Regions from separate parts of the Homo sapiens genome. Here all the other regions are linked to region 1. The links are contacts of gene promoters, found by promoter capture Hi-C in blood cells and fetal thymus (Javierre and others, 2016). All regions are on one chromosome and are shown on one strand. Each heading gives the region's core, a stretch centred on a gene start or on the middle of the fragment in contact. The rest is flanking DNA. Distances are from core to core; before and after follow the strand shown.

What was found. The method cuts DNA at HindIII sites, captures the fragments that hold promoters and counts their contacts. A CHiCAGO score of 5 or more calls a contact.
Region 2: a contact is called between a fragment that was not itself captured here and the fragment with the promoter of KPNA5 in region 1, in 5 of 17 cell types (activated CD4 T cells, total CD8 T cells, fetal thymus and 2 more). The highest score is 15.8, in activated CD4 T cells.
Region 3: a fragment that was not itself captured here is called in contact with the fragment with the promoter of KPNA5 in region 1 in 4 of 17 cell types (non-activated CD4 T cells, total CD8 T cells, fetal thymus and 1 more); the score reaches 9.6 in non-activated CD4 T cells.
Region 4: a fragment that was not itself captured here is called in contact with the fragment with the promoter of KPNA5 in region 1 in 1 of 17 cell types (total CD4 T cells); the score reaches 6.5 in total CD4 T cells.
Region 5: a contact is called between a fragment that was not itself captured here and the fragment with the promoter of KPNA5 in region 1, in 2 of 17 cell types (total CD8 T cells and naive CD8 T cells). The highest score is 13.5, in total CD8 T cells.
Region 6: a fragment that was not itself captured here is called in contact with the fragment with the promoter of KPNA5 in region 1 in 3 of 17 cell types (non-activated CD4 T cells, total CD8 T cells and naive CD4 T cells); the score reaches 7.6 in non-activated CD4 T cells.
Region 7: a fragment that was not itself captured here is called in contact with the fragment with the promoter of KPNA5 in region 1 in 2 of 17 cell types (non-activated CD4 T cells and naive CD4 T cells); the score reaches 6.1 in non-activated CD4 T cells.

Annotation. Positions count from the first base shown.
Region 1 is chr6:116,679,542-116,683,348 of GRCh38, forward strand. It overlaps KPNA5 (karyopherin subunit alpha 5), which reads left to right and starts at 1,670. Exons shown (of 14, transcript NM_001366306.2): 1 at 1,670-1,797. The coding sequence starts at 1,794. RefSeq lists enhancers at 1,267-2,250, 2,251-3,232. The HindIII fragment of the contact is 1,991 bases long and covers 1,186-3,176 here.
Region 2 is chr6:113,965,570-113,969,376 of GRCh38, forward strand. The region is part of intron 1 of HDAC2 (histone deacetylase 2); the gene reads right to left. Among named protein-coding and RNA genes, the nearest start is that of HDAC2-AS2, 2.2 kb to the right of the region's middle. The HindIII fragment of the contact is 2,076 bases long and covers 1,113-3,188 here.
Region 3 is chr6:119,349,489-119,353,295 of GRCh38, forward strand. It overlaps MAN1A1 (mannosidase alpha class 1A member 1), which reads right to left and starts at 273. Exons shown (of 13, transcript NM_005907.4): 1 at 54-273. RefSeq lists a silencer at 194-833. The HindIII fragment of the contact is 276 bases long and covers 1,950-2,225 here.
Region 4 is chr6:119,333,609-119,337,415 of GRCh38, forward strand. The region is part of intron 2 of MAN1A1 (mannosidase alpha class 1A member 1); the gene reads right to left. Among named protein-coding and RNA genes, the nearest start is that of MAN1A1, 14 kb to the right of the region's middle. The HindIII fragment of the contact is 2,233 bases long and covers 798-3,030 here.
Region 5 is chr6:119,313,652-119,317,458 of GRCh38, forward strand. All of the region lies in intron 2 of MAN1A1 (mannosidase alpha class 1A member 1), which reads right to left. Among named protein-coding and RNA genes, the nearest start is that of MAN1A1, 34 kb to the right of the region's middle. The HindIII fragment of the contact is 2,493 bases long and covers 619-3,111 here.
Region 6 is chr6:119,071,937-119,075,743 of GRCh38, forward strand. The region is part of intron 1 of FAM184A (family with sequence similarity 184 member A); the gene reads right to left. Among named protein-coding and RNA genes, the nearest start is that of MIR548B, 4.7 kb to the left of the region's middle. The HindIII fragment of the contact is 1,135 bases long and covers 1,042-2,176 here.
Region 7 is chr6:118,935,857-118,939,663 of GRCh38, forward strand. The region is part of intron 1 of LOC124901389 (a long non-coding RNA gene); the gene reads left to right. Among named protein-coding and RNA genes, the nearest start is that of MCM9, 2.6 kb to the left of the region's middle. The HindIII fragment of the contact is 727 bases long and covers 1,785-2,511 here.

The DNA of each region.
Region 1 (3,807 bases), core at 420-2,919:
CCTGCCCCCTTCCTTGAAAACTCATGAATAATCCACCCCTTGTTTAACATATAATTAAGAAATAACTGGCTGGGCGCGGTGGCTCACGCCTGTAATCCCAGCACTTTGGGAGGCCGAGCCAGGAGGATCACCAGGTCAGTAGATTGAGACCATCCTGGCTAACACGGTGAAACCCTGTCTCTACTAAAAATACAATAAATTTCCAGCTACTCGGGAGGCTGAGGCAGGAGAATGGCGTGAACCCGGGAGGCGGAGCTTGCAGTGAGCCGAGATGGCGCCACTGCACTCCAGCCTGGGCGACAGAGCAAGACTCCGTGTCAAAACAAACAAACAACACACAAAAAAACTATATACTCAGTCCAGCAGCCCAAGCCACTGCTCTGCCTATGGAGTAGCCATTCTTTTGTTTCTTTACTTCTTTAATAAACTTGCTTTCACTTCACTATATGGACTCATGATTGGCAACGCTTTCTGGTAACACTGCCCAGGTTTCCTTTGTCAAGCGTGCCTTTCTCAGCCCTACATACCCACAGTTAAATAATCCCTTCTCTCCTGTTTATTTTTCAACTATTGAAAATAGCAAACATCTTAAAACAATTTGTCTTCATGTTTTTCCTCTTAAAAAATTGCAAACGTCTTCTGGGCAGGATTTATGTATTGTTTATCTTATTTATTCTCTTCCTATTGCATCTGGAACACAGTCTGTTTTCAATACCGTTTGTTGAACTCCAGGGTAGATTACAGGGCTGTGTATTATAATCTACAGTACTTTAACTGAAGTTACTCGTTTATTGGTGACTACATTGCTGTCAAAAATACACTCATGTGGCTGGGTGTGGTGGCTCATGCCTGTAATCCCAACACTTTGGGAGGCTGAGGCGGGCGGATCAGGAGGTCAAGAGATCAAGACCATCCTGGCCAACACGGTGAAACCTGGTCTCTACTAAAAATACAAAAATTAGCTGGGCGTGGTGGCGCATGCCTGTAGTCCCAGCTACTTGGGAGGCTGAGGCAGGAGAATCGCTTGAACCTGGGAGGCGGAGGTTGCAGTGAGCCGAGATCGCATCACTGCACTCCAGCCTGGTGACAGCGCCAGACTCCGTCTCAAAAAAAACCCCCCAAAAACAGAAAAACAAAAACAAAAAACCGCAGATGTTATAGAATATAAAATTATAAATGACAAAAAGCTTGAAATAAAACGAGCAGAGCATATAAAAGTTAATGAAGCTGAAGAAAACGTGAGCTTCTCCGTACACTTAACAAGGCTGCGATTTTTACCAACTTTTTTGCACTGTTGTAGCCCCAATAATGTATCTAAAATGGTACTTGACACAGTTTATATCCTTAAGAATGTATGCATGCACGCACGCGTGAAGAATGAATGAATGAGGGGTCGTCCCTTTGCACACACGGAGGTCTACGGGCCGCAGAGTACCTACAGCATGGCCACCGCAAGCGCAACTAAAATCCAGGGCTTGTCGCAGGCACAGGCTCCTCCTTCGGTGGGTGGGACGGCGGCGCGCACTTTCTCTACGCCCCACTGCTAGGATGTGCGGCCACCACTCCTCCTCCGCCGCCGCCGCCGCCGCCGCCGCCGCCGCCGCGTCGAGTGCAAGGGCTTCTGGGAGCCGAGCCTCGGGGTCTCGGAGAAGGGGCGCAGGTGGCCGCCATCTTGGATTGCGAACTGGGTCGCTACGCTTCACGCCAGGGGCGGAGTGGCGGCCCTTCTGTTACCCGCCACACACGTCGCCGCTGGGGACTGGGAAATCAGGGCATCGGAGAGTGCCACATTAATGGGTAAGTTGGAGTGAACACGGGCTAGGTTGGGGGAGCCTCGGTTTTGGTCCCTTTGGGAACTACTAGTTCCTGGGGCCACGGTTTTTATTTACCCCTTACTTTGCGAAGGTCTCTGGAACCTGGCGGTGCCGGGTGTTTCTCGTGTTTTCCCCAGGGCGACAGCGGTCGCGGGGGCGTGGCAGCCGGACCTTTCCCTTGCGGACGCGAAGGCGTGGTGAGTTCAGATTCTTTCAGCAGGTCCTCTGGAGTGATGGGCAGCTGGTCTCATCTTCGCCGCCCCGCCTCACCGTTTCTCGGTAGTTCTTTTCAGTTAATGGAATTGCCAAACGTTGCCACTCATACCTGGTACCCATCAGCTGTGTCCAGCAGCTTATGGAAATTCCACAGTGTCCAAAGAAGAGACAGGTTCCATCCCGAGGGCCTCCTAGCCTCGCCCTCTCCATCCGCCAGCCTCCCTCCTCCACCTGCGTGCAGGTGCCTCTAGTGCTCATTCCCGACGACAAGGCAAGCCTGGGTTCCACGCTTCTAATAGTCGGGCAGCTCCGTTCTAAGATGAAAACTTAGGTTTTCATCGATAATACATAGGAGATGGAAGTATTTGAAAGCTGTGAAATGACAGTGATATGTCTAAAGAATATGACATTGGCGGCGGGCGCGGTGGCTCACGCCTGTAATCCCAGCACTTTGGGAGGCGGAGGCGGGCGGATCACGAGGTCAGGAGATCGAGACCATCCTGGCTAACACGGTGAAACCTCGTCTCTACCAAAAATACAAAAAATACAAAATAAAATACAAAATAATAAATACAAAAAAAATACCAAAAATACAAAAAAAGGAAAAATTAGCCTGGCATGGTGGTGGGCGCCTGTAGTCCCAGCGACTCGGGAGGCTGAAGCAGGAGAACGGTGTGAACCCGGGCGGCGGAGCTTGCAGTGAGCCGAGAGCGCCATTGCACTCCAGCCCGGGCGACAGAGCGAGACTCTGTCTCAAAAAACAAACAAAAGAATATGACACTGGCATTTACTTTTGAGCTTTTTAGACATGTTTTTTAAAAAAGACAAAAACACTAATGATTTATCTCTCAATTACAACACCCAATAATGATGACTCATATTCTGTACAAAAGTGGTTTTCTTGGTAGGTCAGGAGCAACTCTCTCCCTCCGACCTAAGTACTGCTTGTTTGGTTGTGAGGGCTCTCTAGTTGGCACTTCCCCCGCTTTGTGCAGTCTTTTACTTTCACTAATGAGGCGCCCAGCCCCATGGAAATGAAGGCTTTACTGGCATAAGAAATAATGTCGATTGATATTAAAGAAAATCATAAGTTCAGATTCCAGTTATTTGCCCAACTTAAACATGGTTTTTCTAAGAGCCGTTGAAAGCTTATGAATGAAAAAAATTCCTCTATTCTGTAACTTTAAAGTGCTGGAATAACATTTCTAAATAAAAATATTTAATTTTTATGAGACCTCAGCCTTTGAAGTGCAGCCTTTAAATTTATTTTTCAGTGAACGAAACAATCCCATTGGATGGGGCCCCTTTAGAGATAATTTCCCTTGGTTTATTGTCCCCTTTAAAGCAACTGCAGTGAGGATGGATGCAGTGTTAAATCTGAAGCCGGAAGTCAGTACTATTGAAGAAAAAGGAACAAGTGATATCTGAGTTGTTGGTGCTGTATTTTATTTGGCTAAAATTTATGCTGAACAGTTACAATGTGGTTGCTTGGATTAATGGTCTCATAAGTAGCGCCTTTGTATGTGTGCGTGGTGGGGCACAAGGTGATCCAGTCAGATGTGGTAAGAAAATATTAGAACTTCTATTTGTTTACCTTTTAAAACTTTCATTCTTAAAAATTTCTGTTTTTTGTGAATTTTATGCTAGAGTAGTATATTAGAATAGTAATGCATGTATAGAAATAAATATATTGAGGATGAATGCACAAATGTATTTTACGAATGTAGGATGTGTGATTGAAAACGTTTAGAGCCAGTGGCCTAGAATATGCTACATA
Region 2 (3,807 bases), core at 901-3,400, 2.7 Mb before region 1:
GCCATGTTGGCCAGGCTGGTCTCAAACTCCTGACCTTGTGATCTGCCCGCCTCGGCTTCCCAAAGTGCTGGGATTATAGGCGTGAGCCACTGCACCCGGCCCCCTCTCTTACTTTATACCTGCAGTCTTTTATTTCCTTCTTAGGACTTGAGCAATCTTTTGTCTATTTGGCACACAGTAGGAACTTTAAGCCTATTTGATATGTCTGAACCCAAAGCTGGCTTAATGAACAAGTAACAATAAGCAGACTGCTACTGAAATACAGAGGAATAAGGCTTAATAACCAGTACAAAAAAATCCTTAGACTTGATTTGAATTCTTCCAAGTTTGAATTTATTAACATTCCCTAAGAGATGCCTTCTCCAATCCCAAGTGTTTTCCTTTAAGGACTTGTCAACAGAAGCATTTAAAGTTTTTGTTAAGGAGTTTTGTTTGTTTGGTAGCAGAGGAAACACTTTGAAAAGGAAAAAAGAAAAATAAAGATTCCGGATGTTGAACTCTCCTTGAACATTAAAACTACAGTCAGTGTGGAAAAGGAAAAGTGGTAGACTGCACCAAACAAATGTGAATCTGTTTTCATCTAAACAATACCAAAAATGCCAAAATGCCACCCATCCTACCTAAATGTAGTTCAGAGTAGTTTCAAGAATTAGAGGGAACGTTATATGAAAGCGTTCTATCTATAAGAATAAGGAATTGGCCAGGCACAGTGGCTCACGCCTGTAATCCCAGCACTTAGGGAGGCTGAGGTGGGTGGATCACCCCAGGTCAGGAGTTCGAGACCAGCCTGGCCAACATGGTAAAACCCCCATCTCTACTAAAAAATACAAAAATTAGCCAGGGGTGGTGGCACGTGCCTGTAATCTCAACTACTTGGGAGGCTGAGGCAAGAGAATCACTTGAACCCGGGAGGGTAGTGGAGGTTGCAGTGAGCTGGGATCACGCCACTGCACTCCAGCCTGGGCAATAAGAGCAAAATTCCATCTCAAAAAAAAAAAAAAAGTATAAGGAATTAATAATTTATTCATCACTAATTAAAAAAAAAAGCTACGTTTTTAAATGTAGTTGGCGAAGATACAAACACAAGCAAAACAGACAGACTGTCCTAATGAAGCTTATGTTATAGTGAGGAGAGAGACAAAAGTTATATGGTACAACCAAAAGGAAGAAAAATAAGGCAATAACAGGGACTTAGGTAATAGGAGAAAGCATCTCTGATGAGGTAAAATTTGAAAGAAAAGAGAGGCAAAAGATTTCTGGGGAAAGAGAAGTATAGGAAAATTTCAGTCTTATTTAGTCATGTTTTATTGTGCAATTAGTATTACTGGTATTTATGAACTGCTGCTATAATTAATTTAGCACTTATTTGCCTCCAAAGAAATTATTACCTATTTCACGGATAATAAAGATTTATACCACAGCTAAGAACCCATGTAGTTGTATTAAAGGTTATTCAGCAAAAGACTTTGGTACTACTCATAAATACAAGTCTAAGAAAATCTGACAATCGTTGGCTGCCAAGTAGAATTTCTATAATTTGCTGAAGAAGGAGTACGTTGGGAGGTATCATCTTGGTAACTTTTTTTTTTGAGACGGAGTTTCGCTCTTGTTGCCCATGGCACTATCTTGGCTCACTGCAACCTGCACCTCCTGGGTTCAAGCCATTCTCCTGCCTCAGCCTCCCGAGTAACTGGGACTACTGGTGCCTGCCACCACGCCTGGCTAATTTTTGTATTTTTAGTAGAGACGGGGTTTCGCCATGTTGGCCAGGCTCTTCTCAAACTCCCGACCTCAGGTGATTTGCCTGCCTCAGTCTCCCAAAGTGCTGAGATTATAGGCATGAGCCACCACACCTGGCCTAATCTTGATAACTTTTGTATTTATATAGTTTTATCTGTATACAGTCTTTGAGTGTTTTTTTCTGGACCACTTGTCTCCAAAACTGATTATGCATCCCTCTCAGAGGAGGAAAAAATAGAGCACAGAGAAATTTGTGTATAGTTACATAAATTAGGTATATAAACCCTATTATACTGTATACACCATAAAAACAAGCACTAAATATGTTTGGCCTCAAGATTAATTCAAAACAAAGCATAAACATGTCTAGATACAGTATTAAAAATGTGAGTGGTATAACTAGAGCCTAACACAGCTTAGCTGCTAATTATATTTAAGTAGAGAAAAATCACATCGTTTTAAGGCCCAGAAGGGATCTTAGTGACTATCTAATTAGCTGTATCATTTTACAGATTCTTGATGATCTTCTAGTGTATAAAGAAGGAACATGATTCAGAAGTATGTTTTTGGGAATTTGGAGGCATGGATCAATAGCTACAGTCAGAGAAGTAATAACTTCTCTTACTTTTCTTCAAAGGTTTAAGGATACCTAATCCATCAATGTCTGAAGGTTCCCTTGGGACCAACGTTTCAGTGACCTAAAGGGTTACCTGAAGATTACATAACGTGCAGAGAACAATATGTATATATTTAAAAGTTCTTTCATTAAGATGCAAACAGCCTCAGTGGCAGACATTCTGTGTGGCCAAGAGGCTCCGTGTGCCTAACAGCCCCAGGAAGCCTAAAGGTAGGATTCCTATGGTTATAGAATTTGCTACTTCCGTCCTTTTCTTTTTCACTCACTTTCTTCCTTCTACTTCCTTTACCAAGAAGTTAAAACCATCTAACCTAGGCTAGCAGATAATTCAGACCCTATTACTACAGATATAACCCATTCCCAATCCAATCCATGTTATATACCTTAAAGTCACGATTCTTTGATACAGAAGCTCCTTTCCTTGCATTCTCTTCTCACAATAAAAAAAGAATTAGTATTGCTACTTTTGTAAGCTGACAAAACAATGTTCTCTGGTAATAAAAATATAAGTTTTTGGATGAGGTCAGCACACTATCACATATTAATAATTAGCATAATATAAACATTAATAATCTCTGCAAAATATTTTAATTCCCTCCCACAAAAATTAAAAGAGTATGTGAAACATAAGCAACTAGGAACTCCACTTTAACAAACGAGTCACAGACAAAAGACAAAATAACCCACCAGAGATTTCCAAACTATCAGCTATTCACTTGTTGCTGGCCATCACGTAAGCAGGTGAATGGGCTACAATAAAGTATCATATTAAGTCACAATCACAAGACAAATATTTCCACCCTACTTATCAAGCTTGCATCCTTTCCCGGGTACCCGTGCCTGCTCCCATTCCCACAACGAAGGTTATCATAAATGGGCCCAGGACAAGAGCGCTGTTCAGAAACTGCTACTCAAGTGTACCCTCCTGGTTCTAGGGTTCCATTGTGGTGACAACAAATTACAAGCAGCTTACTTCCTCAGAGCCCATCACTACCAACACCAACTGACAGCTTCGAGAAGGACCTCAGTACCACTTTCCCTAACCAAAATTTTCCTCTTTACTCCAAGCCCTGACAAGGATAAATCTCTAAACTTTAGAAACAATGTAATTTTACAAATTAACTTATACGCAGGGTTACTTCCTTTCCAATTTGATCAGGGAATGCAGGGCAAGAATAACCCAAAATATGCAATGTAAATCATGTTGAAATTAAAATGTATTTCCATCTCCACCCCTCCACGATGGCATAATTTCAAATCAACTTATATAATGCATATCTAGTCCTCTGAAAAATCATTTTTAAAAGTAGGGCTGTTATTATTCTGTCCTAGCTATCGCAGATCAATTTAGATTTGTTCTGTAAGATTTCAGATTTTCCCCAAATGACACAGGTGGTTATTTTATATGTATCAGTCATTAAAAGATTAAT
Region 3 (3,807 bases), core at 838-3,337, 2.7 Mb after region 1:
GCGCAGGAAGGGGTCAGGGCAGCGCGCGAGCACCTCGGGGAGGGGCAGCGCACCTCTGGGCAGGAGGGGCGCAGCGTGGGCGGGAGACTCGTCAACTTCGCCCGCTCCCCATCTCCGCGCTGAGACTGCTGCCTCTTTCCTAGGCTGGGCTGAGCGCGCTGTCCCACGGTCCCGCAGCCCCGGCGCGGCTCAGGTGGGCGAGCGCGCCGACCTGCGGGCGAATGGCAGCGAGTAGAGCAGCACGGTACACTCCGCCGCGGCCCCGCGAGCACTAATCTCACTGCCGGTCTTGGGGCGGTGGAAAGCGAGGGAGGCGACGCGGCCGGAGAGTGACGGCGCGGCCGGGCCAATCACGCGCCGCCCAGGGTCCCGCGGGGGCGGGGCCGAGGCGAGGAGGGGGATGCGCGGGGCGGGGAGTTTACGGGAAGCGCAGCCTCGGCGGGGCCCGGCCGGCGGCGGGGAGGTCGCGGGGCCGGGAGGCGCGAGGTAGGCGGGAGCCGCGGTGAGGAGGACGGTCGAACCCGTGGCTGAGGCCCAGCGCCGAGAAGCGGCAGGCAGAGTTCGGGGTCGGGGAGTTTATCCTGCGCTGGCCTCGGCAGGGGTCCCCGGGGTGGTTGATCCTCGACTGGCCCGGGAGGCGCCTGGGTCCGCGCGGGACCTCTCTGCCTCCTCCTCCGACCCGTGCGGGGCGGTCGGGGGCGCTCCCGAGGGGGTCCCGGGAAAGGCGGGGTCTGGCAGGGGGTCCTGGGCGCTGGGTCGTTCAGAAGCACGGCTTTACTCCAGTTACCCTCTTTTTATCCAAGGCCGGGGTTCCCCGGGTGCCTGGTAGCAGTGAAACCCCAAGTCCCTCGGTTAGGGGAGCCGTGACCCTGGGAGCTTTTGAGCTCTCTGGTATAACATCCTTTTACATCCTAAGAGACACAGTTCTGTGCTTGCTTAGGACTTTTTTCGTATGCGCCCTTTCTTCCCCCAAAAAACAAAAAACCGAAAAAACTTGTATGTCTCTCCCGCCCACCCGTACTTTCACTATTCATTTACCTCATAGAAGTTGGTCAAATTTTCCATTCGAAGACGAGTTTTATGCTGCGGTAGCTTCAAGCAATAAGTCGAACACTGTGTTGAAATTAAGTCTTGGATCCGACTACTTCCAGCGAAGTGAGGAGTTGGTCCAATAGAAATTATTTTCCAAAATGTGTTGTAATTCTCCTGTTGCTCCACAAATAAGGGGTTATCAGAGAGGAAAACGTTGACTGACTTCGCATTTCTGAAAGCTGGTTTGTAGTCGCCTTATTTCATCCTTACCCTTCTCTGGAAATGTGACATTAGTTCTGTTTGTGCTTAAGACAAAGGAAACAGCTGGCACCTTTCGGGAAGGTGGCTCCAGTACAGTTGTTTCCAGGTGTTAAGCTGTATGAGAAAGTAGAAAAGTAATCAGAAATCCTTACTAGTTTTCATTTAATCATTTAATTATTAATTTTAACCATCATTATTTGTCGTCTACTTGTTTTGTGTAAAATGAGTAATACACTCAAAGTTCTTGTTAATAGGAAATTATTGTTTGATAAAGCTGGCTTTATGGCTTGGTTATTTTGATACCTGCTATGAAATTCTATGTCCAGAAGAGTGCAGCATATCCAAGCAGGGTAATAAGTTCAGAAGGACTGAAAAAGAAAACAAAGATGATTTTTCTTTAATGATGGAAAGGCAATTTTTATTTCAAACGATTATGCATTTGTAGGTTGTGCATAGGCTGAAAGGTTTGAATCACTGTGAAATAATGTTTCTAACAACATCCTTAAAACTGAGTTACCTCTTGAATGGATAGATAAATAGGAACTGGGTTAACTACCCCAAACGCTAATCTCTTTATGATCATCCTTTTTTGGAATGATTTATTATTTTAAAAATTATGTTGTAAGAATGGAATTATAGCCCCGGAAATATTTAGAAGCTTTATTTCAAATTAATGTTATTAAGTATTCCAGCAAAACAATAAATTCCACTTTTAAGTATATGTTAAAATGGTGATAAATAAAAGTTATAACTTAATTCTATTTCTGACACTTTAATTTTGATACCAAATCAGTTTGGGCATTTAACTTCTGTAGTGGAAATATTAAAAATTTAGTACGTGGGTTTAAGGATTTTTTCCCCTAAAAACTTTAAATTTATCTATGTTGTTTCTACATCTTTTAAAGTAACTATTCTTTTTAAGTTCATCATGAAGCTTATTTTAAGATTTTTTTCTTATTTTCCGTATTTCTTAAATGACAGGGTTATACTTGCAGCCTGGCTTTGATAATATGTTAAACAAGAAGTTAACATGGGTGGTTGATTATAGGTACATATTAAAGGGTGTCTGTGTACATTAGGTGGGATAAGAACTATATAGGAACACCAATATTTGGGCCAGAGCAAATTTGAAAAATTCACAAAGAAGGTATCTGAAGAGGCATAGCAATCGAATTATGCATCCTCTTTAAAATAATCACATGAAGCCCTGTGTGCTCATGGTAAGGGAGGAGTAGAAAATAGTCAACAAGTAAAATTGTGCATTTTGTAGAAGCAAAATCGGACACTTTCCTCTGATTTCAGTACTACAAAGCACTTGACATTCTACCATTGAAAAAAGTACTTTGTACCCTGAGATAAAAATAAAGGTGATTGGTTCTTGTCTTTTAAGTAATGAAACCTTGACTTTGTCCCCTAAGTCAAGACTCCCTAGCCACATCTACCTGAAGGTAATGTCACCATCTTTATGAATGCAATGATAGTGCTGAAATTGCTGTTTCTCATTATGGATGGTCTAATGTAAACCTAAGAACCTTAGTAATTTTGTGGGATTTTTAAAAAAATACTTGCTATGTTTTTTTATTTGGCCAGCCAGTCCTTTTGAAGTATAACTCTCTTGTAATTTTTGCAGGTTTGCTTGCAAACTTAATTCTTACATTTTCCTTTTTCAATACTTAATGTTTTTGTGTATTTCTTTGATAATTTGTAAATTTTTGTGTTTCAAGATTATATCTTTGAATCAAGTAATTTTTTAAAAACCTGATCATCAGTGATACCACAAAACACTACAAAGAAATCCCCAAATAAATGTTGTTGCTTAGATTTTTCTACTTTCAAAAGAAATTACCAAAAGGTAGATTTAATTTTTACATTAACATGCCTAAAATGAAATATAGTAATAATTATGAGCAGACTTACAGAGGAAAAATTGGCAATATTTTTATAAAACTGATAAATTTATATTTTTATAAAATTATAAGTTCTCAAAAATTGAAGTGCAAAAACATTTCTTAGGAAGTTTCTAGGCAGTACTAGTTAGAAGTTTGTGGAAGAATCCTTTTGAGGATTTTTGTTCTCTTACTTTAAATAAAACTTAATCTAGTGAAAGAAATGAATTTAATCTACATGTACAGTAAATAATGACTGAAATTCTCCAACAAGTTAGATTTCTGATAAAATCTTTTAATGGGAGATTTTCTAGGTCACAATAGGTCTTTGCTCTTATTTTTTAAAAAATCCAAATGTAATACGTAAAAAATGATTCATTGTGAATATTAATCTTGAAGTTTCAATACTTCAATGGGCACTCTCAATTTTACATGAGATATATTAAGGTGGAAATTAACCAGAGTTTTAAAGGAAACTATCGGTGTTATTTGTATGCAAATTGGAGTCTACTGTTATATTTCTGATTCCATGTTTTTGCTCTTCCTCAATTTACTTTGGAACTGCCTGAGTGGCAGATTATTTTTATAGAATTCCAATCACATTTTTTTGAGGGGGCGTGGGTGCCAG
Region 4 (3,807 bases), core at 664-3,163, 2.7 Mb after region 1:
AACACCTGATTACCTGCAGCATATCTGGCTATAAAATCCTCAACCTCTATTACCAGATCAGTCAAAAGTGGAGAATTTCTGTCAAAACCTGTATTTATCAAGAATACATAAATTCAGACTAGTTTTCTAATAAATAATCTACTCCTGGTTAACTCAGACCAATACCTGGTATTATACTTTGCCCATCTTCTTCCTAGTTTTCAAAGAAGTCCCTTCTAAATGTCTAAATTCTAGTGCCTTTACCTTATAAAAACCTAGGGTGTAATTCTTCAGATCACAGGTGGGTGGAGAACTACAACCACAGAAGCAAATACACTGACTTCCCAGACTCTCAGGTATATTCTAATAGGACCGTAGTTAAAGCTTTAAGCAAGAAGCAGATGGAAAGCATCACCATCCCCAACTCTCCCAAAGACACCTGTTTTAAACTTCCTATTTCAGCTCATCCTACTATGCTATATCTTGGAATATAACTCTTTTTTCAATTTATAAAATTACAATGGTTTATTTTCGATCAATTTTAGAAACATTTGACAAGGTATGGGAAGTAAACAGAAATAACCTTTGATTTTAATTTTCCTATTTTCTTTACCATCAACAGCAAGCAGATTTTAAATTCTAAGATTGAAAAATATAGACCTAGGGGGATTTTAAAAAGCTTGGGAAAAGAGACCCAAATATCCTCGTGCCCAACAAAGAATATCTTTCCTTTTATTAGTTGGTTTTTATTAAACAATTCCTGCCTTGAAGTCTAACATGAAATACTTTAAAAGTTAAAAATTATATCATAGATTAAAAGCTTTCTATTGTTTTAGGTTGAATCATAAGAACTTAAGTGTACCTCGTATGTTAAGACTAAAACAGCCAAAATGTTCTTCTGAAAATCTTTAAGAGTATAATGTTCCAATAAAAGGAAGTAAACTTTTAGAACATTAGTTGGTGTTCTGTTTCCAAATCTAATCCTCCAGGCATAAACTACATTTAAGGAGCAGATTAAAACCACCCAAGAACAAATTATTAATTCAGTTTTCCATTTCACTCTTGAATTCTTGTCTTAAATGCACTAGGAATCTCTGCTGCCAATGTAGTTAAAGCTGCAGCAGCTCTAATAATCAACGGATATTATCACAAAGGGTGGATACATCCTAAAATGAAAGCACCATATGCCTAATTATTGAGCTAAATTTACACATGTAGTTATCTCTGAATGAAACATTTTCAGCTTTTCAGCTCACAAAAATTATTTCTTTCTATGCCCTGAAGGTATTTCTCCAGATTTCTTTATCCCTGGCTTTCTTTCCTCCCCACATATCTGAGTGTTGTGTGACAGCAGGCCCAGAAGTCAGAAGTAACTGGACACTGATGAATGAATGAGGAACCACTCCATTCAACACCCTCTCTATGGTTTTCCTGAGGATGAGCATCCCTTCTGTGTAATAACAATTCTAACAAGGCAAAATAATGCTTACTTTCCTGCCATAGGAAGTGAGAAATTTGGCAACAACAACTAAAAGGGGAGGCAACAATAGAAAATAGAAGCTATTGGTCAATACAGCAATACTGCAGCCAAAACATACTTTTCTTTCCTGGAAATGACTTTCTGAATCCAATTTACCTACCAACCCCTTTCCTTATCACTCCTACCAATTCCTAGCTGCTAGTAAGTACATACTATGTATTGAATAATGAATGATACATGCCAGGCATTGCGCTGAGAGATTCACATACATTTTCTATTTTAATTCTTACAACAACTCTGAAAAAGAGGAATTATTAACTCCATTTCAAAGGCGTGGAAAGGGAGGACAGAAGTGTTTCTACTCTGCCATACTGCCTCACATTTATAAAACATTTTGTTGATATACTTAATCTGGGTTACATTTAGGATGAATTGCCTTTTATTGTCAAATTCTGGGCCACGGACCTATGAGATAAAAAAGGTGTCCCCACTTCTAGGGTGTCTGAAATCTACTTGAAAGATAACATATATGCACACAAAATCAGTGACACACAGGCCAAAGATAGAAATAATCAATAACATGGGAATTTGGAGAAGGGAGAAATCAGTGAAGGTTGAGAGTGTAGAGAGGGCTTCATGAGGACATGGATTTTGAGCAAGTGAGAAGACTCTCCTTTTGAGAACCATAAAGTAAACAAGGTGAAATCCTAAACGACATGTGTTCTGGAGATAGTAACTATGTAAGTTTTGTGGAAGCACAGTCCTTCCTGGGAAGTAACAGAGATACAACTCAACAAATAAACTGATGCAGATTTACAGAAGACTACGGATGCCAAGCTAAACATTTGTGACTTCACTGTGACTTCATTCTAGAGCAAAATGTTTTTCTAGCTGAAGTCACTGGACCAGAAGCATCAGTATCACCTAGCAACATGCTAAAAATGCAAATTCTGGGGCCCACCCAGGCCTACTGAATCAGAAACTCCAGGCTTTCAAAATTTTTTTATTATTATTTTTTTTGAGACAGAGTCTCACTCTGTCACCCAGGCTGGAGTGCAGTGGCACAATCTCGGTTCACTGCAACCTCCGCCTCCTGGGTTCAAGTGATTCTTCTGCCTCAGCCTCCCGAGTAGCTGGGACTACAGGCTCACGCCACCACACCTGGCTAGTTTTTGTATTTTTCGTAGAGACAGGGTTTTACCACGTTGGCCAGGCTGGTCTTGAATTCCTGGCCTCAAGTGATCCTCCCTTCGGCCTCCCAAAGTGCTGGGATTACAGGTGTGAGCCACTGCGCCCGGCACCAGCAATCTGTTTTAACATGCCCTCCAGGTGATTCTGATGCATGTTGAAGTCTGAATCATTACTTTATAGGAAATGGAGGACCATTAAAACCTGAGTTGGGCAATACGAGAGAAGTGATGTTTTAGGAATATTAATAGTCATCTGTAGAATAAACTGCAAAAGGGACCACTGACAAATGCATAAAATTCATTGAGCCTCTACCATGCAATTATTTATATGACACAGCACTTTTCAGGAGAAACAATATGAAATTGGGAAATAGAAAACCAAGCTTCTTTCTCTTTCTCAAAATATCACACCTTCTTAGGGAGGAACATGTTTATGTAATTCTGATTTCTCTAGTGGAAAATAATAGCTAACCTATGACTTTTCATTTTAGTGTGGTACTGTAAGCATTACTCATTAAGACACCTTTATCTCTCAAAAAATTTTGCCAAAATGGAAACAAAACAAAACCAACTCTAGGTATATCCTGTATAAAATTGAAATACAAGAAAAATGGCAACCCTTATTAAATACTGTCCAGTATTCTAGGTAATAAAGAAAATAAATGAAGACTCTACCTACTTTAAAAATAACATATCTAAAAAAAAAATACTGGCTGTAGATATAAACACTTTTCAATAAAATAACAGAATCTTTATATTCGAGTGTTGACCTTTAAAGGAATCTCACAATCATCTACATTTATTTCAGCAGTGTTGTATTTGGTCAAAAGACTTTTTTTTGTTTTTGGCACCACTTTCACCAGTTTACAGTCATATAAGAAAATGAATGCAGTTTTCATTTTATAAATCATTCTGGAAAACAACTTGAAAACTGGAAAAGGCATTTCCTATATTCATTAGTCTCTTTATTCACTAGGTCTGATTCTAAATGACTTCTGACTGTTGTAAAAAAAAAAAATCAAAAAGACAAAGACTTGTAGCCCATGAGTATATACATTAGAAAGGACTTCAAAGATGAGCGGACACCACTTCTGGAATACCAGATTACTTAGCGCGAAATCACACTTAACCTGAGTAACTCCTGTAGGCATGTTTATT
Region 5 (3,807 bases), core at 615-3,114, 2.6 Mb after region 1:
TACTTATACTAAAAAAAAAAAAAGTTGTTTATCTGAAATTCAAATTTAACTGAAAGTGCTATATTTCATCTGGCAACCCTAGGACAATGGGATAGGACACATTCAGTTCCTGGTTCTGAGTCCACTGTCTGCTCTCTGGTTTGTGCCCTGTTCTGTGGTAGGCTCGAAAAAGGGGTCAGAACATTTGAAGGGCCAGACAGGAACAGAACCACCAGGTCTAGGGCAACTAGAAGTGAATGGGAAACGTGACAAAACGAGAGTCAAGCCCCTCACTAAAGCTATTTAAAAAAAAAAAAAAAATCAAAACTACGCTGGCTAAGGGTTAAAAAAAAAAATCCGTGAGCCACAGTTAGCCCACAGCCCAGCAGTTTGCACTGCAACCTCTACTTTACAGGCACGCGTCTAGAACTAACCACTCTGTTTTTAGGTCTGTGGGCATGTGGCTTCCCACCAGCCCTGGTTCCCATAGCTCTGTGAGGAGCTTCTATTCCACTTCTAGCATAGGCTGCCCTTCAGGGCCAGCTTCCCGGACTGCTCTGGTAGCAACATATGTGCTATCTCTTTGCCACAAATTAGCAAAAGTCTTTGAGATCTGAGGTGCATAAAGCATTATGTGTAAGCTTCTCAACAATTCTTTCACTGGATGAGCAGTAGTTTCACATTTTAGAAGTATTATTTTGTTCTACAAATCAAACTGTAGGAGCTGTCGTCATCATGGGTTATGGAGGCCGAGGCTGTAAAGGAGGAAGTGAATTAACTTTGTCAAACAGCTACCACACTGCACTGTGAGGGGAATTTGATATAATTTAACACATCCAATCCTTACAACACCCTCTCTGGGGTATTATTATCCCTGTTTTACATATGAAGCTGAGGCCCAAGGTAGTGTAGAGAAGAGCAAGGCTGGAAACTCTCTCACGCTGATTTTCTCCACTATACACTGAACAGAGCCCTCACTTTTTTGCTGCTTGCAAACCTCAGACAGTCATCTGAGGCCTCTGAGCCCTCCTGCTCCTCCATGCACAGAAGGCAGCTCTATCTGGGGTCTGAGAAGCTGTGGCCAGGCCTGGCACCAAAATGACACATGCCGAATCAGGACTGGGAGCTGGCTCAACTGAAGACCCTCACAGCACCACCTTTCCTTGCCTGCCCTACATCCTTCAATTCTCACAGCCTTCCTCCTCCTCCACTTCGGCTCTCAGCTCCAGCTCTGTACCTAACTTTTCTCCTCCTGCCCTGTATGCTACTGGGGCAGACAAGATGGTGTTGTCCTATTCGACCTGGCCTGTCACTAGATTTATGGAAAACCATGAATTCCTCTCCTCATGCCAAGCTGCTGTCTACAGCTCTGATATTTTCTGAAGTTTACTACCACCACGGGAGCTAATGTGGACCAGCTTCTCTTTCCTCTTTCTGTATTACTCGACTTCTTGTTGCTATGTGTGCAATTCGTTTGTTGCCAGGTACTCGAGGTTGCCTCTTATCTACTGAGTGGAGAATATATATATATGGATGGGGATTTTCTTCAGATTGAGGTGTCCTGAATTCTCCTACAGCCAATTTTAATGTACTTCTAAGTTGGCAGGAGATATATAAAGAAACAGTAATTATTTAATGCTATTGCATGAATTCTAATGTGCCACTGAGCATTAATTCCCCAGTGAAATGAAAGCGTGGTTAGCAATAGCAATTTCTTTAGAAAAAGAGTCAGAATGACTGATAAAGCCAGTTTTAAAAAATGAGAATTCTAGTAATCACTACTTGTAATGGACAGATTGTTCTGTTTCTAAGAAGTATCTCGTTCTCCTAAGGAAAACCCAGTGTTTCCAGTTCTAGCTAAAAAAATTGGATCATATGCATTTAATGGTTCTCTTTTTTTATGGCCAAATTTTGACATTATTTTATAAAAACTCTTGTGCTGTTACCAAATGGCAGAGGGTACAGGGGAAAAGAAAAAGAATAAAGAAATACTTGACCAAAATATAAGTCCATTTCTCTAAAACATTCTAAGGGATTATAATTTAGCAACTCAAAAGTTAGAGGTCAGAAAAGGGCTTATTCATAGGTGAATATCTAGTCCATTCCTTTTTGGAAGGAAGCACTATTGCTGAGAACACTTTCCTTACATAGAACAGTTTGGCATCAGCTTAGGGTCTACCATTTGTAGTTATTTCCTTATCAAAAATATCTGTCTTGTGGTTGATGACTATGGTCTCCAGGCAGAAGCTGTCACTGAGTTCAGAAGTTGTCACTTTGTGTTTAAAGGTTTAACCTCAGGGTTTTTGGTCTGTTTATTCGGCAGATTTTTAATTAACACGGAAACTTTGAATTCATTAGATTAGCTGTGCTAAGACCTCTGTGGTCAATGTGAGGCCAGCAAGTGACCCCTTGCAGGCCTGTGGTGACAGGTGATCTCCCTCACTTGGTCCCCAGGCCAAGATCTTACAGGGCTTTCCCAACATGGGAAGCATCAGCAACTACAGATCTTTAGTGATCAAGAGAAAAAGATATTCATTTTTGTGGGTTTTTTTTTTTTTTTTTTTGAGATGGAGTTTTGCTCTTGTTGCCCAGGCTGGAATGCAGTGGCGCGATCTTGGCTCACTGCAATCTCCACCTCCCGCGTTCAAGCGATTGTCCTGCCTCAGCCTCCTGAGCAGCTGGAATTACAGGTGCCTGGCTAATTTTTGTATTTTTAGTAGAGACGGGGTTTCGCCATGTTAGCCAGGCTGGTCTCGAACTCCTGAGCTCAGGTGATCTGCCCACCTTGGCCTCCCAAAATGCTGGGATTACAGGAGTGAGCCACCATGCCCAGCCAAAAAAAGGTATTCCTTGCTGGGATATCACAGATGCTCCCTTAATATCCTAAGGAGAGCTAAAAAAGTGTGCCATAGAAAACAAATACTATTTTCATGTAATGTCTAATCTCAAAAGTTTTTTTTTAATACTTGTAATAAAAAGGTAAGCCCAAACATTCTAACTCATACATATATCATTCCACAACTTCAAATTTTCACATTTTAATTTTTGCAGCAGTGACAAAATGATTTTTAAAATTGAAATGTGCTATCTTTAAAAGATTTGTTTATAGATTTGTCAACCTTATAAAGACTAAGCTTTTTCTTTTAGATTCCTTTTTTAAACTTTACAAATACTATGAGGTTATCACTAGTATTACTAGTAGTTAATAAAGTTACTAATTATTTAGTGATCGATGAAAATGAATTAGCTTGAATTTCATTAAAATGAGCAAAGTCAGATATAGTTACCTTTTTAAATTACATTTTTTTATTATTATTATTCTTTTTTTTTTTTTTTGAAACAAGCTATCCCTAGAGTCAAGCCCCATTCTTCAGTTAGCAAGAGGAGAATTGTAGGGCACAAGTATTTCCCTTTTATCCTTTCTTTTGTGTGTGTATGTTTTCTAAAACAGACTTTTTTTTAAACAGAAGTTTTAGATGCACAGCAAAACTGAGTGGAAAGTACAAAGTTCCTATATATCCTCTGTACCCCAAAGGCACAACCTCCTCACTATCAACATTACGCACGAGAATCGTACGCTTATTACAACTGATGGACCTACACTGACACATCATTACCACCCAAAGTCCATGATTTACATTAAGGCTCACTCTTAGTGTTGTATATTTCAATGGTTTTGACAATGTATAATGGCATGTATTTACTACCATAGTATCATAGAGTATTTTCACTGCCATGAAAATCCTCTATGTTGTGCTTATTCATCCCTCTCTCCAATCCCCAGTAATTTACTGTCTGCATAGTTTTGTTTCATCCAAAATATAATTG
Region 6 (3,807 bases), core at 359-2,858, 2.4 Mb after region 1:
CTGCAACCTCCGCCTCCTGGGTTCAAGCAATTCTTGTGCCTCAGCCTCCCAAGTAGCTGGGATTACAAGCACCCACCACCACACCAGCTAATTTTTTGTATTTTTTGTAAAGACGGGATTTCACCATGTTGGCCAGGCTGGTCTCGAACTCATGGCCTCAAGTGATCTGCCTGCCTTGGCCTCCCAAAGTGCTGGGACTGTAGGCATGAGCCAGGGCACCCAACCTAAACCTTTAACCTTTAACTCTAAATCTTTAACTCTAAAGGAAGTCCCTTTATAAGTTTGTGACCAGTTAATTAACAGGATACTATGCTTTTGTGTCCATTAGTAAAATGCAACAAATTAATCCAAACCACTCCACTATGACTAAAAGATTACATCCAAGCCACTGCATAACAGCATGGCAAAGCTACAATGTAACAAAGAAAAAGAGATGCTGCATTTGGCATGTACTAGTGCTAAGGTGAAACACAGCCAATTGCTATGTTTTATGAGGCCACTTACCATTCTTGTTCAAAGACTCAAGTCATAAGCAATATAGAATTATTATGAAAGAGTATCTAGATAATTCAAACAAACCAATTAGTGAAAAATCATTTATTTCATGTACAGAAAATAGTATTATTTGAAAAATTCACTGGTTTTGGTGTTATATAAACACATTCTGGTTTTGGATATAGTAAAAGCAGAGTTAGTATAAAATGACTGATCACAAGGCTTTTTTATATTTGCTAAGAAACTAGTATATTAATTACCTACATTCTGAAGTGTCAAATACTTATAATGTAGACAAAGAACATTATATTTGTATTTTTTACATCAAAAATACATTAAGAAATAAAATAGCTTTTTGAAGCAGTTTAAAGGGCAGTCAATAAACATTTACATATTTAGGAATAATTTAACTCAGCTGAAATGATCTATCATTAACCCAGAAGAGTAGCAGATACAATTCCTAAAAAGTACTGTCTTTCTCTGCTGTATAACAAAATTACTTGCTGTATCATTATGACCACCATCTTCTTCAGTAAATACTTATTAAGCTTTGGTACTATGTGCAAACCATTCATATTAAGGTTACATGTAATAAAAGATACAGTCCCTAGAGCTGAGAACCTTACAGTCAAATTATGAAAACAAAGTATATTTATAAACACAATAAACAGTATTTGCAAGTTTGCATTATTAAGTATCAAGTAAGAGGTACCAACAATCAATGCTAACGCACAGCAAGGAAAGCCCAACAAGGGTAGCTGGTCAGGACAGTTTTAGTAGAAGAGCCATAAGCTGGGTATTAAATAAGAGGACTTGATGCTAAGCACAGAAAACACAAAATAAACTACTTCCTGCTGTTTGGGAACTTACACTGTACCATATATTACTTATGTCTATACTAGTTAAGTGATAAACAGACTCTGTATCAAAAGTGCAATCAACTAAAGAGGGATTTGATAAGCAGCTAACATAACAAGGTATTAAAAGGGAAGTTTCTGCTGAGAACCAGAGACGATAGAAATGACATTCCAAAGCAGCTGCCAGAACATTCTCGAAAATGTCAAGAGGCAGTCTAAAGAAGAGTGCTGAGATGTGTTACTTTCCACCCCCACCACTAGTGAGGTGGTGCTTCAAGAAGATTACAGAGTAGGTTTCAGAGATTTCCCTGGGGAGAGCTGTGGTAACAGGGGCCTGTGTCTTCAAGGGGGAAGGGTGGAAGATGCTTGTCCCACACCTAAAGCCTAGGGAAAAAGGCTTTGAGGGAATGACTTGAAGAACTTGACATGTGCCTCAAGCACTTTGAAGAACATGCTAACCTGGTACCTGATTAATCCCCAGAAAATCTAAATGATGAGAAGCTGCATGAAGAGGCATGTGAGAACAAGAGAGAGGGCTGAACTGGGACCACTAGCAGAGTTTGTGCAAAGAATGAGTGCTCCCTATGTGGCCTCTACGGAAGAGTGAACAACCTGGGGTGGGATCACACAAGTCCATGCAAGAGGGGTATCTAGAGTTTGCACAGACCTCAGCAAAGTGGAGGTGAAGGTACTGCTAGCTCCAAGAGGCTGAGGAAGGAGTAAGCAACCAATCAGCGCATAAGGGAATTCTCACTGTCAAGGAATTGAGGTGAAAATCTAGAGCCACTGAGGTGGGAGGTAGAAGATTCACCAGTGAAAGAATAAGCTTTAAACATCTGCAACGGCTACAAAAGCACTGAAACTAGATCACCAGCTAGCTTCTTCACTAATCAAGTAAAAGTTTGCTGCTCCTCTTTACTCTTTTCACTTCTTCCTTGACCAACTTTGGAAGGGTGAGAAACCAGAACTGGCAAGACAAAGCAGGAAGAGTAGAAAAACCAGGTAAGAAGTAAAAAGGCAATAATACCCCCTTCCCTAGTTACTGGTTTCCCCCTTGCAAGAGACAGAGCAAGAGACCAGTTAAGGGAGAAGCTTCATCTTTATTTCAGGCTTGGTCTGCAGTTTTTACTTGTTGGTACTGGGCATTTTAATTTTAATAATCAAATTGAGACTTTTGTGACTTTGTTACTGAAGGATGATTTGTATTATCTAAAAGCAACCAGAAAAATTAAGTTAACCCATGAAAGAGGATGAACCAGTCTCAAAGAGTAAATTGAAAGAGACAAAAAGGGAAAAAAAGTAATTTGAAAGTGACAAAAAAAAAGCTTTTATAATTACATCCCACAAGGCCTGCTTTTCAACCTGATATCCTGAAAAGTCAACACAGTGGAGAGCACAGAAGTATACAAATGTGGTCTTATAAAACATAATTGAATCCATCCAGCTTCACTGCCTATCTTGAGATAGTTCAGCCATTAACATTTGCAGAAACTTGCCATAATGTAGCTCAAGAATCTAATATTAATTCTTAAAACTTGACACGAGTGACCCAAATATGCTAGACTTCCTTTAAAAGGCAGGGACTGTGTCTTGCTCCCTGCTGTATCTGTAACATTTTCCAAAGTCTCCCTTACATAAAAGGTGCTTAAAGAACTGGTGTTCTCCTTACCATGAGAAGGCAGCTATGTTAGGCTCTTAGGAAATAGGATATGAACAAATATGCATACAGCAAAGACTGCTTTTTAATTAAAAATATATTGAGCTTTGCTATGGGCAAAATTATAATCTTTATTACTTTTCATGCTTATCCTTTCATAGCCAGCCAAACCTTTGAAACATGCACAATGTATTTTCAGAACATTCTACCACAATGCAGAATAAATGTGAAACCTTTAAACTTTGATATTCGAAGGAGAAAAAAAACTACTATATATACATTTTTAAAGAGTTTAGCAGAAAACCCTCAAAATAAGTACACTATCACACAACGCTGTTAAATGCAGAATGGTTTAAAAGGAGAGAAGCATTTTTAAAATATCCATATTTTATTAATACTCATATTGGTATATGTCTTTTCAGTGAGTGACAGCCTGAATGAAGAGCCTACTATGTGCCGCTACAACTCTGTAAAATAGGTACTATCATCCCTATTTTAAAGATGAGGAAACTGAGGCTCAGTGTTTCATGGCTTGCTCAAGGTCACAATAGTAGTAAGTGGTGGAGTGAGAATTTTAACTCAGTGTGTCAGGTTCCCACACTGCTCTTAAGTGTGCTGCTGCTATAATGCTGAAGAGTTGAGTTCTACTGACTTCTTTCCAAAAGAAATAAAATCCAATTTTAATTGTTACATTTACAGTGTACAATTATGAAATATTAGCCATTGTCAAGTTCCAACCATAGTTGGAACACACCTCTGCTAATATGAATAAACTCTTCATGAGTAAAAATTCTATAT
Region 7 (3,807 bases), core at 898-3,397, 2.3 Mb after region 1:
AATATTTAGTAATGACCCTTAAAGTAAGCCTCTTCATTTATTTAGGTGTTATTTCACTCAGCAAATGTTTTGATCTTTTGTCAGGTCTAGTCTTATATAGTCCATTTTCACAGTGCTAATAAAGACATACCTGGGACTGAGTAATTTATAAAGGAAAGACGTTTAATTGACTTACAGTTCAGCATGGCTGGGGAGACTTCAGGAAACTTAAAATCATGGCAGAAGCGGGAGCAAACCTCCTTCTTCACAGGGCTGCAGGAAGGAGAAGTGAGGAGCAAGGAGGGAAAAGCCCCTTAGAAAACCATCAGATCTTGTGATACCTCACTCACTATCAGAGAACAGCATGGGAATAACCACCCCCATGATTCAGTTACCTCCCACCGGGTCCCTCCCACAACACCTGGGGATTATGGTAACTACAGTTCAAGATGAGGTTTGGGCAGGGACACAGCCAAACCATATCACCCTATGTCAGATTTATCCATAAATCTAAGGATGGGGGAAAAATATACTTCTTGATATTATGTAAATGACATTTTAAATTTTCAGTTGTTCTTTGATAGTGTCTTAGTCTGTGTTGCTAAAAAGGAATGCCTGAGACTGAATAATTTACAAATAAAAGAGGTTTATTTGGCTCACACTTCTGCAGGCTGCTTCTGGTGAGGGCTTCAGGCTGCTTCCACTCAGTGAAGGGGAGGCTGCCTGTGCAGATCACATGGCCAGAAGAGAAGCAAGAGAAAGGGGAGGTAGTGGTCAGGCTCTTTTTAACAATCAGCTCTGGAGGCAACTAACAGAATGAGAACTCATTATGCAATGGCAGCACTAAGTTTTCCTGAAGGATCTGCCCCTGTGACCCAGACACCCCCAACTAGGCCCCACACTTGGGATCAGATTTTAAGATGAGATTTGGAAGGGAGAAATACTCAAACTATGTCAGATAGTGTGTAAAAATATGATTGGGGGTTTTGTTGTTGTTGTTACAGGTTCTTGCTCTGTTGCTCAGGCTGGAGTGCAGTGGTGTGATCATGGCCCACTGCAACCTCTGTCTGCCAGGTTCAAGCAATCCTCCTACCTCAGCCCCCTAAGTAGCTGGGTGATATGGTTTGGCTGTGTGTCCCCACCCAAATCTCACCTTAAATTGTAATCCCCAGGAGTCTGGTGGGAGGTGATTGAATCATGGGGCGAACTTCCCCCTTGCTCTTCTCATGATAGTGAGTTCTCATGAGATCAGGTTTTTTGAAAGTGTCTGGCACTTCCCCCTCACTCATTCTCTCTCTCTGGCAGTTCCCCCTCACTCATTCTCCCTCTCTCTCCCGCTCTGCTATGGTAAGACGTGCTTGCTTCCCCTTTGCCATCTGCCATGAATATAAGTTTCCCGAGGCCTCCTAGTCATGCTTTCTATTAAGCCTGCAGAACTGTGAGTCAATTAAACCTCTTTTTGTCATAAATTGCCCAGTCTCAGGTAGTTTTTTATAGCAGTGTGAAAACAGACTAATACATTGGAATTATAGGTCTGTGCCACCACACCTGGCTAATATTTTGGTATTTTTTTGTAGAGATAGGGTCTCACTATGTTGCCCAGGCTGGTATAATTGAATTTTTAACATTAATCTTGTATTTGCAATTTTGTAAAAACCACTTATGAGTTCTAACAGCTTTTCTTGTGGATTTTGCTAGATTTTCTATATATTCAGGATTTGTTATCTATGAATAAAGACAGTTTTACTTCCTTTCTATTCTGGAGGCCTTTTATTTCTTTTTCTTGTCTTTTTGCACTGACTAGAAGCTTGAGTACGGTGTTGGATAAAAGTGATGAGACCAGACATCCTTTCTTTGCTTCTGATCTTAGAGGGAAAGTTATCAGTCTTTTACTCTTAAATATGGATGTTAGCCCAGGGTTTTTTGTAGATGCCCTTTATTAAGATGTAGGAAGATTTGAGCACTTTTATCAAGAATGAATGTTGGATTTCATTAAGGCTTTTCTACATGTGTGGAAATGATCACTTTGCTTTTTTTTTCTTTTAGTTTCATATTTTATATATAGATTGAATTGTGTCCCTCCAAAAAAGATATATTGAAGTTATAATCCCCAGTCCCTTTAAATGTCACTTGTTTGGAAATAAGGTCTTTATAGAGGTAATTGAGATATTAGGAATTAGGATGGGCAGTAATCCAATATGACTTGTGTCCTTATAAAAAGGATAAATTTTATGGCTGGGCACAGTGGCTCACGCCTGTAATCCCAGCACTTTGGGAGGCCGAGGCGGGCGGATCATGAGGTCAAGAGATTGAGACCATCCCGGCCAACATGGTGGAACACCGTCTCTACTAAAAATACAAAAAAAAATTAGCTGGGTGTGGTGGCATGCGCCTGTAGTCCCAGCTACTTGGGAGGCTGAGGCAGGAAAATTGCTTGAACCCAGGAGGTGGAGGTTGCAGTGAGCCAAGGTCACGCCACTGCACTGTAGCCTGGTGACAGGGCAAGACTCCGTCTCAAAAGAAAAAAGAAAAAGCTTATAAAAAGGAAAATTTGGGCACAGATACACACACAGCAAGAATACCACATGAAGAGACACAGAAAAGATGGCCATCTACAAGCCAAGGAACACCTGAAATTACCAGAAGCTAAGAGAGAGACCTGGACAGATCCCTCCCTAGCACCTTCAGGAGGAGGATTTCCCTGTTGATATTTGGATTTTGTACTTCTGGCCTCCAGAACTGTGAGACAGTAAATTTTGCTTGTTCTGAGCCATTCAGTTGGTGGTACTTTGTTATGGCAGCCCTGGGAAACTAATACATCAATTGATACATGAATGTTAGATCAACTGCGCGTTTCTGAAATAATCTCCATTTGGTAATGATGTATTCATCTTTTTTATATATTGTTGAATTTGCTAACATACATCAATGTTTTTATTATACTTTAAGTTCTGGGATACATGTGCAGAACATGCAGGTTTGTTACATAGGTATACATGTGCCATGGTAGTTTGCTGCACCCATCAACCCGTCATCTACATTAGGTACTTCTTCTAATGCTATCCCTCCCCTAGCTCCACATCCCCTGACAGGCCCCAGTGTGTGATGTTCTCCTCCCTATGACCATGTGTTCTCGTTGTTCAAATCCCACGTATGAGTGAGAACATGCGGTGTTTGGTTTTCTGTTCTTGTGTTAGTTTGCTGAGAATGATGGTTTCCAGCTTCATCCATGTCCCTGCAAAGGACATGAACTCATCCTTTTTACATGATTTTAATTTTGTAACTTCTCCCTTTAATTTATTTTTACAGTTTTTATTGTGAGAATAGTCCATGAGGTTGACAAAAACTCAAGCCATGCTCTCTAATAGATTCCACTCCCCTCCTCAGAAAAGAACTGTCCTCTTTAAACTCAGTCAGTGTTAAGAGGATCATTACTGAATTTACAGATTCATTCTGCATAGATTTGGCTTCCTAAGAAGAGTATTTAAAGGGTGGAGCAAATGGCTAAAAACAAGGCTCTACCAATCATTCCCCCTCCACCCCTTAGGAACACCAAACTTAACAACTGTCTACACAAAGAACACAGTTATAAGAACCAAAAATCAGATGAGCACTCACAGTACCTGGTTTTAACTTCATATCACTAAAAGATCAATGAAGAGGGTAAGAAAGACAGTCTTGAATTGCAGATGCATCCCTCCCCCATACCTGGGCAGTGTCCACATGGTGTGGAGAGAGAATCTGTGCACTTGGGAGAGGGATAGCATAGAGATTATGGGACTTTACGTTGAAGTGAGTGCTTCCCTGTGACAGTGGAAAGCAAAATCA